4 separate regions of the Homo sapiens genome follow, and all the other regions are linked to region 2. Evidence: promoter capture Hi-C in 16 types of primary human blood cells and fetal thymus (Javierre and others, 2016). All regions are on one chromosome and are shown on one strand. The core of a region is centred on a gene start or on the middle of the fragment in contact, and the rest is flanking DNA. Distances in the headings are between cores, read along the strand shown. Region 1 overlaps MIA3 (MIA SH3 domain ER export factor 3). Region 2 holds the start of CNIH4 (cornichon family member 4). Region 3 holds the start of LBR (lamin B receptor). Region 4 overlaps MIA3 (MIA SH3 domain ER export factor 3).

Evidence for each region. Contacts are between HindIII fragments. The CHiCAGO score rates a contact against its expected background, and 5 or more counts as called.
Region 1: a fragment that was not itself captured here is called in contact with the fragment with the promoter of CNIH4 in region 2 in 5 of 17 cell types (non-activated CD4 T cells, total CD4 T cells, monocytes and 2 more); the score reaches 7.0 in non-activated CD4 T cells.
Region 3: a fragment that was not itself captured here is called in contact with the fragment with the promoter of CNIH4 in region 2 in 2 of 17 cell types (erythroblasts and monocytes); the score reaches 8.2 in erythroblasts.
Region 4: a fragment that was not itself captured here is called in contact with the fragment with the promoter of CNIH4 in region 2 in 4 of 17 cell types (total CD8 T cells, activated CD4 T cells, naive CD8 T cells and 1 more); the score reaches 7.2 in total CD8 T cells.

What each region holds. Positions count from the first base shown.
Region 1 is chr1:222,645,128-222,647,885 of GRCh38, reverse strand. It overlaps MIA3 (MIA SH3 domain ER export factor 3), which reads right to left. Exons shown (of 28, transcript NM_198551.4): 7 at 2,201-2,332. Among named protein-coding and RNA genes, the nearest start is that of MIA3, 28 kb to the right of the region's middle. The HindIII fragment of the contact is 1,853 bases long and covers 529-2,381 here.
Region 2 is chr1:224,355,522-224,358,292 of GRCh38, reverse strand. It overlaps CNIH4 (cornichon family member 4), which reads right to left and starts at 1,414. Exons shown (of 5, transcript NM_014184.4): 1 at 1,300-1,414. The coding sequence starts at 1,368. RefSeq lists enhancers at 564-1,064, 1,622-1,761 and a silencer at 972-1,341. The HindIII fragment of the contact is 2,727 bases long and covers 1-2,547 here.
Region 3 is chr1:225,426,222-225,429,203 of GRCh38, reverse strand. LBR (lamin B receptor) reads left to right here and starts at 1,166. Exons shown (of 14, transcript NM_002296.4): 1 at 1,166-1,250. RefSeq lists a silencer at 750-1,579 and enhancers at 1,412-2,083, 2,084-2,756. The HindIII fragment of the contact is 2,832 bases long and covers 297-2,982 here.
Region 4 is chr1:222,618,742-222,621,765 of GRCh38, reverse strand. It overlaps MIA3 (MIA SH3 domain ER export factor 3), which reads right to left. Exons shown (of 28, transcript NM_198551.4): 2 at 474-607. Among named protein-coding and RNA genes, the nearest start is that of MIA3, 2.2 kb to the right of the region's middle. RefSeq lists enhancers at 2,629-2,688, 2,969-3,024. The HindIII fragment of the contact is 1,598 bases long and covers 976-2,573 here.

The sequences.
Region 1 (2,758 bases), core at 206-2,705, 1.7 Mb after region 2:
CACTTATAATACCATTGTTATAGGAATATGCATTCAGAAAATTCCAACATGGAAAGAAATTACTATCTCTCTAATGTCATGGCCTTGCTAATTCCTCTGCTCCATTTCACCCAAACTAACAGGCAAGCAGAGACCAAGGTTCCAAAAGTCAAGTGCTGAGGCTGAGGAACAGCAGTTAGGACACAGAGCCTATATAACTTTCTGAAAAACGAAAAAGGCGTTAGAATTTTTTTATTAACAAATAGGAGAAACAAGAGTGGGAAATGTAAAATGTTTTCAACTTTTCCCCTTCCATTTACCCTTTGATTCTCCCTTTTTATCTGAAGAAAAGCACCAGGAGGTTAGAGAAGGCCTCACAGGAAAAAAGACCCTTCTTTTTAAGTAATTTTACAATCAATTGTGAGAGAAAATTTATTAATGATGATATATGTGATATAATTATGAAATCAGAAAAAGAGTACTCAGTTTTAGAAAGATTTGCATCCAATAATTTTGGCCATTTTAACTGTGAAGTTTCAATACAAAGCTTTTCATCTGCAAAGCTCATTTACACAAATAATCTTCTCCCAATTATGTTAAATAACTATGCAGCTGAATGCTATATAGTATAATCATAAGGATGTACAAGTATGAGTATACACACTTATACAAACATGTTTAAGTCTGAAAGGCAAATTCTGCACAGAAGATAAAAAAATTAACGGTGTGTCTTTACACATGATATAATTTGCATTTCGAAATAAAAAGATATTTTCTGAGTAAAATAGTACATGATGAAATCAGAAAATCTGGAAAATACACATTTTTTAAAAACTGAAAACTTACCTCATCTCCTAGATATAAGAATTTTTATCATTTTATTGTATTTCCTTGCAGCATTTATTTTCTGTGTGTATGTTTATGTAATATACAGTTTATCTATACCTTAAAGTCTTGGTTTCTACTTTTTTTCTACTTCATGTTAAATTGTGAGTATTTGTTGTGCTCCTATGTCTTTGAATTATATAAAGCAGCCTAATATCCCATTATATGAACATACAATAATTTAACAATTTTCCCACTGTGAATCACAGTAGGTTGTGTCAAAGTTTTCACTCTAATAAATACTGTTCTACTGAATGCTCTCATGTAAGATATTTAAAACTTTTTTTTGAGACAGAGTCTCACTTTGTCGCCTAGGCTGGAGTGCAGTGGCATGATCTGCTTCCCCAGTTCAAGCGATTCTCCTGCCTCAGCCTCCCAAGTAGCTGGGATTACAGGCTCCTGCCACCACCCCCGGCTAAGTTTTGTATTTTTAGTAGAGATGGGGTTTTGTCTTGTTGGTCAGGCTGGTCTCAAACTCCTGGCCTTATGTGATCCACCCGCCTCCGCCTCCCAAAGTGCTGGTATTACAGGTGTGAGCCACCACGCCCGGCCATGTAAGATATTTAATGCATGATTGGTTATTTCTTTCTTTCTTTTTTTTTTTTTTTGAGATGGAGTCTCACTCTGTCACCCAGGCTGGAGTGCAGTGGCACATCTCAGCTCACTGCAGCCTCCGCCTCCCAGGTTCAAGCGATTCTCTGCCTCAGCATCCCGAGTAGCTGGGATTACAGGCATGTGCCACAACACCTGGCTAATTTTCGTATTTTTAGAAGAGATGGGGTTTCATCATGTTGGCTAAGCTGGTCTCGAACTCCTGGCCTCAAGTGATCCGCCTGCCTCGGACTCTCAAAGTGCTGGGATTACAGGTGTGAGCCACTGTGCCGGCTGACTGGTTATTTCTTTAGGATCGATTACTAGACATGACATTAATACAATATAAAAGGATATAACCATTTTTAAGGCTTATCATACACATCATGAAACTATTTTTCAGGATGGCTCTAAGAATTCCTAGTTCTACTAACAGTGTACATATGACCTATCTAATTCTTTCTTTTCATCCTTTGTGAGTTGAAATACAGACCCACCTAATTCTTAAAATTTAGACTTTGATATGAGACATATAAACTGAAGTTTTCCCACTGAGATTATACATGTTGTCTTATTCACTTAAGAATTTACCAACACAAAAATTATACTAAATTATTTTACAAGGTTAGCTTGAATTAAAAGCATTAATTTCTGTTCATATTAGAAACTGAAAAAGAAACAAAAGGACTGTGATTATAAAACCATACTTGAATTTATGAGTTAAAGTATGCATTAATTTACTCACAACAAGGACAGTTCTCCATAAGAAAATGGCAAACGAAGCAATTCCCAAGAAGGCAGTGATAAATACAGGTTTCCATGGCAGTCCATAAAAATCAGGCCCAGGCTGAACATCATCAGGCAATGTAGCAACTAGCTGAATGTTAGAAATAATGTTAGAAATAATGAGAAACCTTAAAGAAGCTTACCATAAAGCAGTCACAAAGACTCATTCACAGAAATTCTAAACCAACTCTATCAGATACCTATCCCCTCAAAAATCTTCAGTAGCTCTCACTGCTTTAAGAAAAACAGGATACTGGGAGTCTCATACTTATTGTTTGGCCTGTGGTGTTTTGAAGTACTATGACTCTAAATGTCTTTAGGTTGGGCATATATTTCTAGTTTCAATAGGCCCTGATACAATATGTTATCTAAAACATGGCTGGAATCTCTCTGCATCATACTTTTGTCTTGAATAAATTGGTTTTTATTGCTTAAAAAACCACATAAGACAAAAAACCTTTTATATACAAGTAACTAACTTTTTATGGCTGCAAATAAAACCAATATGATGATAATG
Region 2 (2,771 bases), core at 165-2,664:
TTACTGAACATTAGCTATGGGGCAGGCACTGTGCTAGGGTGCTCAGCACCATTCTCATTGTGCATATCTAGGAAATAAACATTTCCTATTTTAAAGATCAGAAAACTGAGGCTTAGGGAAATAATGTGCAAGCAAAGAGCTAGCTGACCAGGAAATCTGATTCCAAATTTTGTCCCTTTCCACTACAACAGGATGCCAGTCCACAATGAAAAATGAAGCTGCACTGAACATATACTCTGTACGACTATCCTAAAGCCCGCATGCTCTAGCAAACAAATGGTTTAATCCGATCAGAAACAGGTACATGTGATTTCCAAGAAAGGAAGCTGAAATGCGGAGTTCCTCATACGTTTTTTCTTATATTTAATTACTTAAACCTGGATGGTGCAATACAACATTGGGCAACAACTAAGCCTAGATGCTTTGTCAAGAGATGGGAAGAGTTGTAGCCGACATGGCTACTGCAGTGCTAAATTCAACCACCATTTATTGCTCTGGAAAACAGTTTGAATACTGCAACTTAAGTTTTAACATGGATCGATAGAAAAATTTAAAAGCTGAGAAACGATTGGGAACTACAGCAGATGTAGTTATTGAATTTACAGATCTGCAACCACCGGGGACAACCAAAATAATCACTTTGTAGACAGTTGTTAAAACAACTCCTTTCCAACACTCACTACAAAACGGCACAGTGAAGGAAGCAACTTCGCTCCTTTGGCGAATGAGTCAACTCCTGGATGTGAAAGGTCCCTGCAAGTACTAACACCCGCCAGAACAAAGGGGCGGGTGCCGGGGGTGTTGCGTGGGGAACAGGAGGAGGCAAATGGCCCGCACTTATCCCGGCACCCGACTGTCGCAAGCGACCGCCCTTGGGACCCCCAATATCCGACGAAGAGCACGGCGCAGGGCCTCTCCCAGAAAAACAGCGACGCTTCTCTCCCGAGGGCGGCCGTGGCTCAGGCAGGGCTGGTCCGGGCGCCGCGGGGACGAGCGGAGAGCAGGCGGGCAGGCCGAGACGGGGCGCGCCCGGAGAGGCCCACTCGGACCCGAGTGAGGGGCGGCCGGCAACCCAGGCAGGGCAAGTGCGTGCAGGGCAGCAGGGCCCGTCGGGTAGGGCAGCCAGCCTCTCCTACCCGCTCCGGGGCCCGCGCCACCGCCCCGGCCAGGCCAGCTCCCAGGGAGCCCACGCCCGCCGCCGGGCGCCTCCCTAGTCCCACACACCTGCCCGGGTGCCCAACTGGCCCACCCTCAGCCGTGTCCCCCGGCAAGGCGTTCGCCTGCCTCAGGCAAGGATACGAAGTAGACCGAGAGGAAGATGAGCGCGCAACAATCGAGGAGAGAGAAGACGAACACCACCGCCTCCATCCTCCTCCTCCGTCGCCGCCGCTCCTTCCGTCAAACCCGCTCGGATGCCCCGACCCACCCCTGATAGGCCCTTGCCGGGGCTGGCTGAGGCGTGTGGTCCTCGAATCCTGGTGTGGCATGCCGGGAGTTGTAGTCCATATTTTAAAAAACTCTACGGCCCTAATTCTGACGCATGCTGGGAATTGTAGTTCATTAGTACAAGTCCATATCAAAGAGGTGGGCAGGGCCTCTTTCATAAATCCGATTATTTCCAGAAATGGAATTAATCAACAAGTATTTACTCAACGCTTTTCTTTTAAAGAGCTGGGGTCTTGCTCTGTCGTCCAGGCTGGAGTGCAGTGGCGTGATAGAGCTCACTATGACCTCGAATTCCTGGGCTCAAGCAATCCTTCCACCTCAGCCTCCCGACATGCCCAGCTAATTTTATTTTATTATTTCTCATTTTATTTTATTTTTTGAGACAGGGTCTCACTCTGTCGCCCAGGCTGGAGTGCAGTGGCATGGTCACAGCTCACTGCAGCCTCTACCTCCTGGCCTCAGGTGATCCTCCCACCTCCGCCTCCTGAGTACCTGGGATTACAGGAATGTACCACCACGCCTGGCTAATTTTTTGTATTTTTAATAGAGATGGGGTTTTTGCCATGTTGCCCAGGCTGGTCTCGAATTCCTCGGCTCAAGCGATCTGCCTGCCTCAGTCTCCCACAGTGCTGGAATTACAGGCCTGAGCCACTGCACCAGTCTCTACTGAACGCTTTTAATCCGGATATCCAGTAGGATGTATTTCCCATGTGTGAAATTTTCTTTAGAGTTGGCTCTAGAACCATTGCATTCCCTGACTTAGGATTTGTAAGGGGTTTTCATCTCAAAGCACAAATCTAACTTAATGCTCCTGGCTTGACTTTTGCGATTTGCCCTTCCCTTCCTGATTTCAATTTCTCCAGAGATTTCACAGTCCTTTGTTTATCCTCTCCTACAGCAATGTTTCTCTCCTCTCTAGATTTTAAGATCTTTAAGAAGTGAATACGATGTCTTACTCATCCATTCATTCATTTAACAAATACAGTTGTATTTGCAGGGGCTACTTTCCAAGACCCCCAAGTGGATGCCTGACACGATGGATAGTACCAAACCTTATGTGTACTATGTTTTTTCCTATATATACATACCTATGATAAAGCTTAATTTATAGATCAGGCACAGTAGGAGATTAACAAGTAATAATAAGATAGAACAATTATACTGTAATAAAAGTTATGTAAATGTGGTCTTTCTGTCTCAAAATATCTTATTGTACTGACCCTTCTTTTTGAGATGATGTATGATGATAAAATGCCTATGTGATAAGATGAAGAGACAGATGCAGCCTCTCCAGTGATTTTTATATTTTTCAGTCCAAATCTATT
Region 3 (2,982 bases), core at 463-2,962, 1.1 Mb before region 2:
AACTCGATGTATTTTCACTTTTTTTTTTTTAAGAAGTAAACCTGGGTGTTTTGTAGTTCTATGAGAAAATGAAAGCTGAAGCTAGGCTATAGATGAAAAGTTCTATTCATTATTACAATTTAATAATGCTTCCAAAATAGCAATTCACTTAAATATACCTAGTTAGGGTGTTAAGAAATACTTTGATTAAAACCACACTGCAAAATAGGGAACTTCAATGGACTGCTTTAAACTCTCGACCTCAAAGGAAGGAAATCAACTAACCGATAATGAAAACTAGCAGAAAAAAAAAAGCTTAGGATCCGTAACAGATTCGGAGTCAACAATGACATGACTCAGCATTTTGGGGTTCAATTAAAACCAGGCTTGTAGGTTGCAGGTCAAGTTGTGTTTCGGTGTGTAACGCATAAAACTTCTTGTTCCACGCTCCGCGGTGTTGGGGATTTTCTACTGCATCTCGACAGCATCTCGGGTAACAACCGAGCCCCTCCTCGCAGCGTAAGTCGTAGGAGCCCTCGGCCATTCTTCCCCCTCCCTCCCGCCGCCGGTCCCAGCATCGGTCCGGGTTCGCTTCTACGCAGGTTCAGCGGCCGCGGACACAAAAGCGCCCCTGCTCGCCTTCGATGCCGCTGCTTGGTCCAGGGGCTTCTGTGGGATTTTAACACGCTAAGGAGGGCACTCATAGTGTTTTACCGAGAAACGCTTTCGAGCTCGGATCTTTGGTGATCACTTCAAGAATGTATTAGTTTTCTTTGTAGCTTAAAAAAAAATCTCGTTCGCCAAGCCACCTGGCACCCCAAACACTGCTGCGAGCGCTGGGAGGGAAAGGGCGGGAGCGCGCGGGCTCCGTGTGCTGCGAGGGCGCCTGGGCGGCTGAGATAAGGCGGTGGCAAACGTCGCGCTCCGGGCCGCCCCGCCAGACTCGGTTTCCCCCGCTCACCGGCCTCCCCGCCCCCAGGCAGGGTGGGGCGGGGCGGACGCGCCACGGCGCGCGACCAATCGACAGCGCCGGGGATGATTCAAAAGGTCGAGGAGCCAATGGGAGCCCCGGGCGGCCTCGCCGGTGGGGAGGGGAGGCGAGGGGAGGGGAGAAGCGCCGCGAGGCGGGGCCGGGGAGGCGCGCGCCCGGCTTGCGGGACTGCGGGGCGCGAGAGCGCGGCCGGGTAGCGTCGCGCGCGTGGATCTGCCGCCGGGTTGCTGTGCGACTATTCTCCGGGAGCCGTCCGTGTCACCGCCGGAACCTGGCGCAGGTGAGTGCTTCCACCCCCGCCCTGCTCCCAGCTCCCCGCGGCGCGTTCTTCGAGGGGCCGCTGGGGGAGGAAGCCCGAGGCCGGCGCAGCGGCCGGGCCGGGGACCCTGGGCGCGGGGCCTGGCGCGGCGGCCTTCCCCTCCTCTCCTCGCCTCCTCGTCTCCTCCCCTCCTCGCCTTTTCTGGCCCAGTCGGGTGGTCGGGGCGGCGGCGGGCGAGGCTGGAGCTCGCCCGAGCCGGGCCCGCTGCGGAAATGGAGCTGGGGGTTTTAAACTGCGGACGTTTCCCTCCATGTTGGCGGCGCGGCGCGGCTGTGGAGCGGCGGCGGCAGGGAGGGTTCGTGGGCGCCTTTGTCCTGCCCCACCGCAGCCTGGCTCCCGGCCCCTCCGAGCGCCCGTCTGACAGATGAGCAGGCGGCCCCGCGGTCCTGCAGTAGGAGGCTGACAGGGCGCGGCGGCCTGGCGGGACGGGGAAGGGTCTGCGGCCGAGGTGGGCTTAGATTCGCGCTGCTTGTCACTGGCTTTGAGGGTCGTGGTCGTCGCGGTTTGGTGATTCTCCAGGCACACTGCATGGCTGCTCGCTCCTATGCGTTGAATTCCTTCGCCCGGACAGTCTCAAAAATCGGGTATTTAGGCGGGTGTGCGTGTTCCTGCTAAAGCACGGTCCTGCTTTTTCACCTTTTTGAGGGTTCAGAAAAATGTTCTAATGACAGCCAGCCTCGCACTGCCAGTAGCCTCAAGGGGCACTTAGTAAAGCACTTGCTTTCGGAGGGCTTTGTTGAAGGCGCTTTCCCAGAGTGATTACGGGGCCCGGTCGGGTGTTCACACGAGGGCGCGGTAGATACCGTGGTCCGCGCGTGGACACCTGCAGCGCGAGGCGCGGCGCCTGGGCAGTGCCAGGGTGAACAGGCCCCCGGGGACCTTGCACGTAAACACGTGTAGATCTGTAGTTACGCATTGTAGTAACTGGTGTGTGGGAGAAGATGGAGCTACGGAGAAGAGCAGAGGGATCCTAATTTAGATTAGGCAACAAGTCCAGTTTAAGTTTTGTTTCTCAGGCTGCCTGGGAAGAGGGAGAAGAACGAGCAGGAGGGGAATGATGAGCTGCCCAAGGATGTTTATGGGGAAGAAGGCGCTTCTGCCTTTACAGCCAGGAAGGTGGCCTTTCTGTTGCTTCATGAAGCAAAGGGCGCGGAGCAAGGCCCGGGGTTCCTGTTTGCATTTTGCCTAGTGGGGCTACCGGGGCTCAGGTGTGAAAAGGAAGCTGTCCAACGTCATTCGAGCGTCTTGCTCTATGCCACGTTTAGATGAATTTGGAGAAGTGAAGGAAAGATGGCTGGAGACCCCTGTAATGTTAATGAGCAGAGAATTGTTGTGTTCACAAACAGTAACATACCGGAGCTGGAATGTGTGAGGATTGCAGTGCCAGTTGACTCTGAAGTTAGCGGGCATCTGGCTTAATAGAGAAAAACCTGAGGGTCTCCGTGTTTTTCCTGTTTATGGCGAATGAGGACATTGGGTGCAGTGAACAAAATTTTTCTTTACAAACACACTTGCCTAAAACATCTCTTGTAAGAAAATCCTGTGTGTATCTTGACTCCTGTAGGTGAGTGCATAGTGAGTGACACGAACAAATGTGGGGCTTTTGTGTGCCATCCTGGCTATTTCACTCCTGTGGGGGAATATATTAGGATGTGATTGCACTGTATCCTCACGTTTGACAATTGTGTGTGGA
Region 4 (3,024 bases), core at 525-3,024, 1.7 Mb after region 2:
ACTTATAATAGCACAGATGATTAGGGAACTGTTCCCAAGACTGCCACTTTTTCATAAATAATAATATAAACAAAGAAATACACATAAAATCAACTTTAAGCTTACATGCCTGAAACACTCTCTCACATATAGTTTACAGGAGTAAGTCTAATTCCTATGAATACTTCCTTTTTAAAGCAATGAAGTATTTTTCAGCTCTTACCATTTCAACCTCTAATACGTATGCAGCATCCTAGAGGTTGACCCTGAGGGGAACTTGCCAGAATCAGTTCTATTTCAGAAGGCTCTGCTGAGCCCCTACTCTGTGCAGACCCAAGGCCTGCTGGGGACACAGGGCCATCTTTTTTCACAGTCAGGCAGAGAGGACAAGTTAACTCCATCAAAGGTCCCAAGAAAATGCAGTCATTTAACTCTACAGTGCTAAAGAAGCCAATAAAAATTAAGCAAATAAAGTATGTCGATATTTTACTTACACTTCCAGCCCAAACTTCAGGCCATCCTCTTGCCAGTTTATAGTAAACATATACAGGATCACCTTTTTTAAAATTCACAAAACGACAATCCGGGCCTGTGAAATCTTCAAGAGCCTCACCGCGGTACATTAACACTGTATATAAAGAGAGAGAAAAAAAATAGCCAGATATCAGGATTCAGTGTTCACAGTGCATATTGATTTATCAGGAAATATAAGAATCCCACTATAAACAACAACCAAGTTTTTCCAGTACTCTCTGGAATTTCTTTCATATGCTCAAAGTATCTCAAATCCTTTGAGCTTTACTGCTATAAATCATACCTTCTGCAAGCAGACAAGGGAAAGGAAAACCTTCTCTATTTTTCTCTATGGATAATACTGAGAAACAAAAAGCAATGTGCCAACTACCACACATGGCTTTTCTCACCCAAGTGAAACTCTCGATTCCCTCTCTAACCTTCTAGTCCTCAATCTTTTCTGTTTCATATTCATAAAAAGCTTCCTTTTGCAAATGGGTAAATTCAAGCCCAGATGATGATTAACTTAAGCATGGCTACATGAACGGGTAATAGGGAACTAGAGTACCCAGGAACCCCCAAGAGGTCAATTAACTTGAACTAACCACTAAAAGGGTCTATCTTCAAGTGACTGTAACCAGTACTATGTAGCAGTAAACACTGTCAATTTCATTTGCAGCCAAGTTGTTCCCTTAGTACAGTGTCTGGATAAATTAATGGGAAAAGATATCTATCACACCCTACTATAGATTCAATTACATCACAAGGCAATATTTTCTGAAAGTAAATAATGTTGACTGTATCCAAAATTAAGTTTCAAAACAAAGGAAAGAATACCCTTATGTATATTTTTCTATAAACAAAATCAAAAGTCGACATCTCATTTGGCTGGGACTAAGCAAAACTATGAGAATAGGTCAGTAATTCAATCACGCTTGATCTAGAAACTGGCTGAAGCAGTACTTTTATTTTTGTTGACCACATACACAGTTTCCCATGTAAGATGAAATGGACAATAAATACATCTAAATAGCAGAGACAAAGAAGGACGAATAGAAATAAGATTTTTTCCAAAAGCCAATTTGCAATAAAATACATTAAAAACGTGCCTTTAAATGGCTATACACGCATATAGATTTGGAAGGGGCTACTTGTTTTTTGAAGCTAAACTCTGATTACTTTCCAACATGTCAGCTTTGTAGCTCAGATATAATTGAGTGTGAGGCCAGGTTTAAGATGATGGACAATTTAAGGTTGGGAATAAGATCAGAATTGAAAATGGCAATGTTTCTTTTGCTCCCCCTTACAATAGATCATAGAGGATTTATAATAATATTTGAGATGCCAACAAAATGCACCCTGTGGAACAGCTATTTGAAAACCACACAAGGGCACCGTACATACTCACATTACTAAACACTTTCTACAACACAACACAGACCCATCTAGACCTTGCTCCTGTTGATGCCTATTGTATTTGGTTTCCTCTGAACACGTACCATTTCTCAAGTTATGTTACAACCGTGAGCTCTTCTAACATCATGCCTCAGTACTGAAGAAGCATCAGTGATGTGATGATTCTCCAGGTAACCTGTTTTGAGGAACCCAGGCAGGGCAATGCTTGCAAGCAAAGAATACCAACTATCTTGCCATTGCCAACGGCAAATGGGTAACAGCGTGGCTTTGACCCAAGAAAACTAAAGGGAAAAATCATGGCAGTTGTACCGCTTTTGTAGTGTTTATTTACATCAACCACAGGGTTATCTCTAGGAATGGCTTCACACTCATTAGAGATCTCTTTTCTTGATTAGTGTTGTAGAGATACAAACAGTTCATATTATGAAATTCGGTTTTGATAACATCAATTTGAATATAAATAGCTAAACCATAGAGTTCTTGGCCTTCTTAAAATGAATACGTTTCTATAGGCATTGCTTAACAGTGTATGAAAAACCGTTTCTGCAGTGGCTATCAGTAAGTTACAAGGTTGAGACGGTCTGGGAGGCCCTAAAATGATCCTGGTCCGGCGAACATAGAGGGAAGAGGTTTCAACACGCAAGCGGCTAAGGCTAAACCAAGCTTGGCTTATGAGACCCTTGGAGTATTTACTGTCATTCCTGTAATAACCTTCTTCATCTGAGCCTGAAGATCTGTGCCCTCTCCACCGCCCACCTCCAATCCCAGACTGGAGAGCAATTCCGCTTCCTGCGCACAGAAGAGGAGGCTGCCGGTCCCAGGTGGCCGGTGCAGATCCTCGGTCTCTGCAGAGCGAAAGATTTTGGTCTTCCTGCAGTCCTGCCTAGCAGTCTGCAAGGCGGCTTCCAAGCACAGAAACGACAGGATTGATCAAAGTCGGGGCAGAGACCTCGGAATACAATGAGTGCTTGGACTCCAGACTCGTCCCAAACCTAAACTCCCAATTCCTGTTCAAAAGGCGGTACAAGCCCAAATCCCAATAAAGCAGAAGGGCAAAGGAGCAGCGCCAGGGAGCCTTTCCAAACAAACCCCACCATCAACCTGCCACTGGGAAAA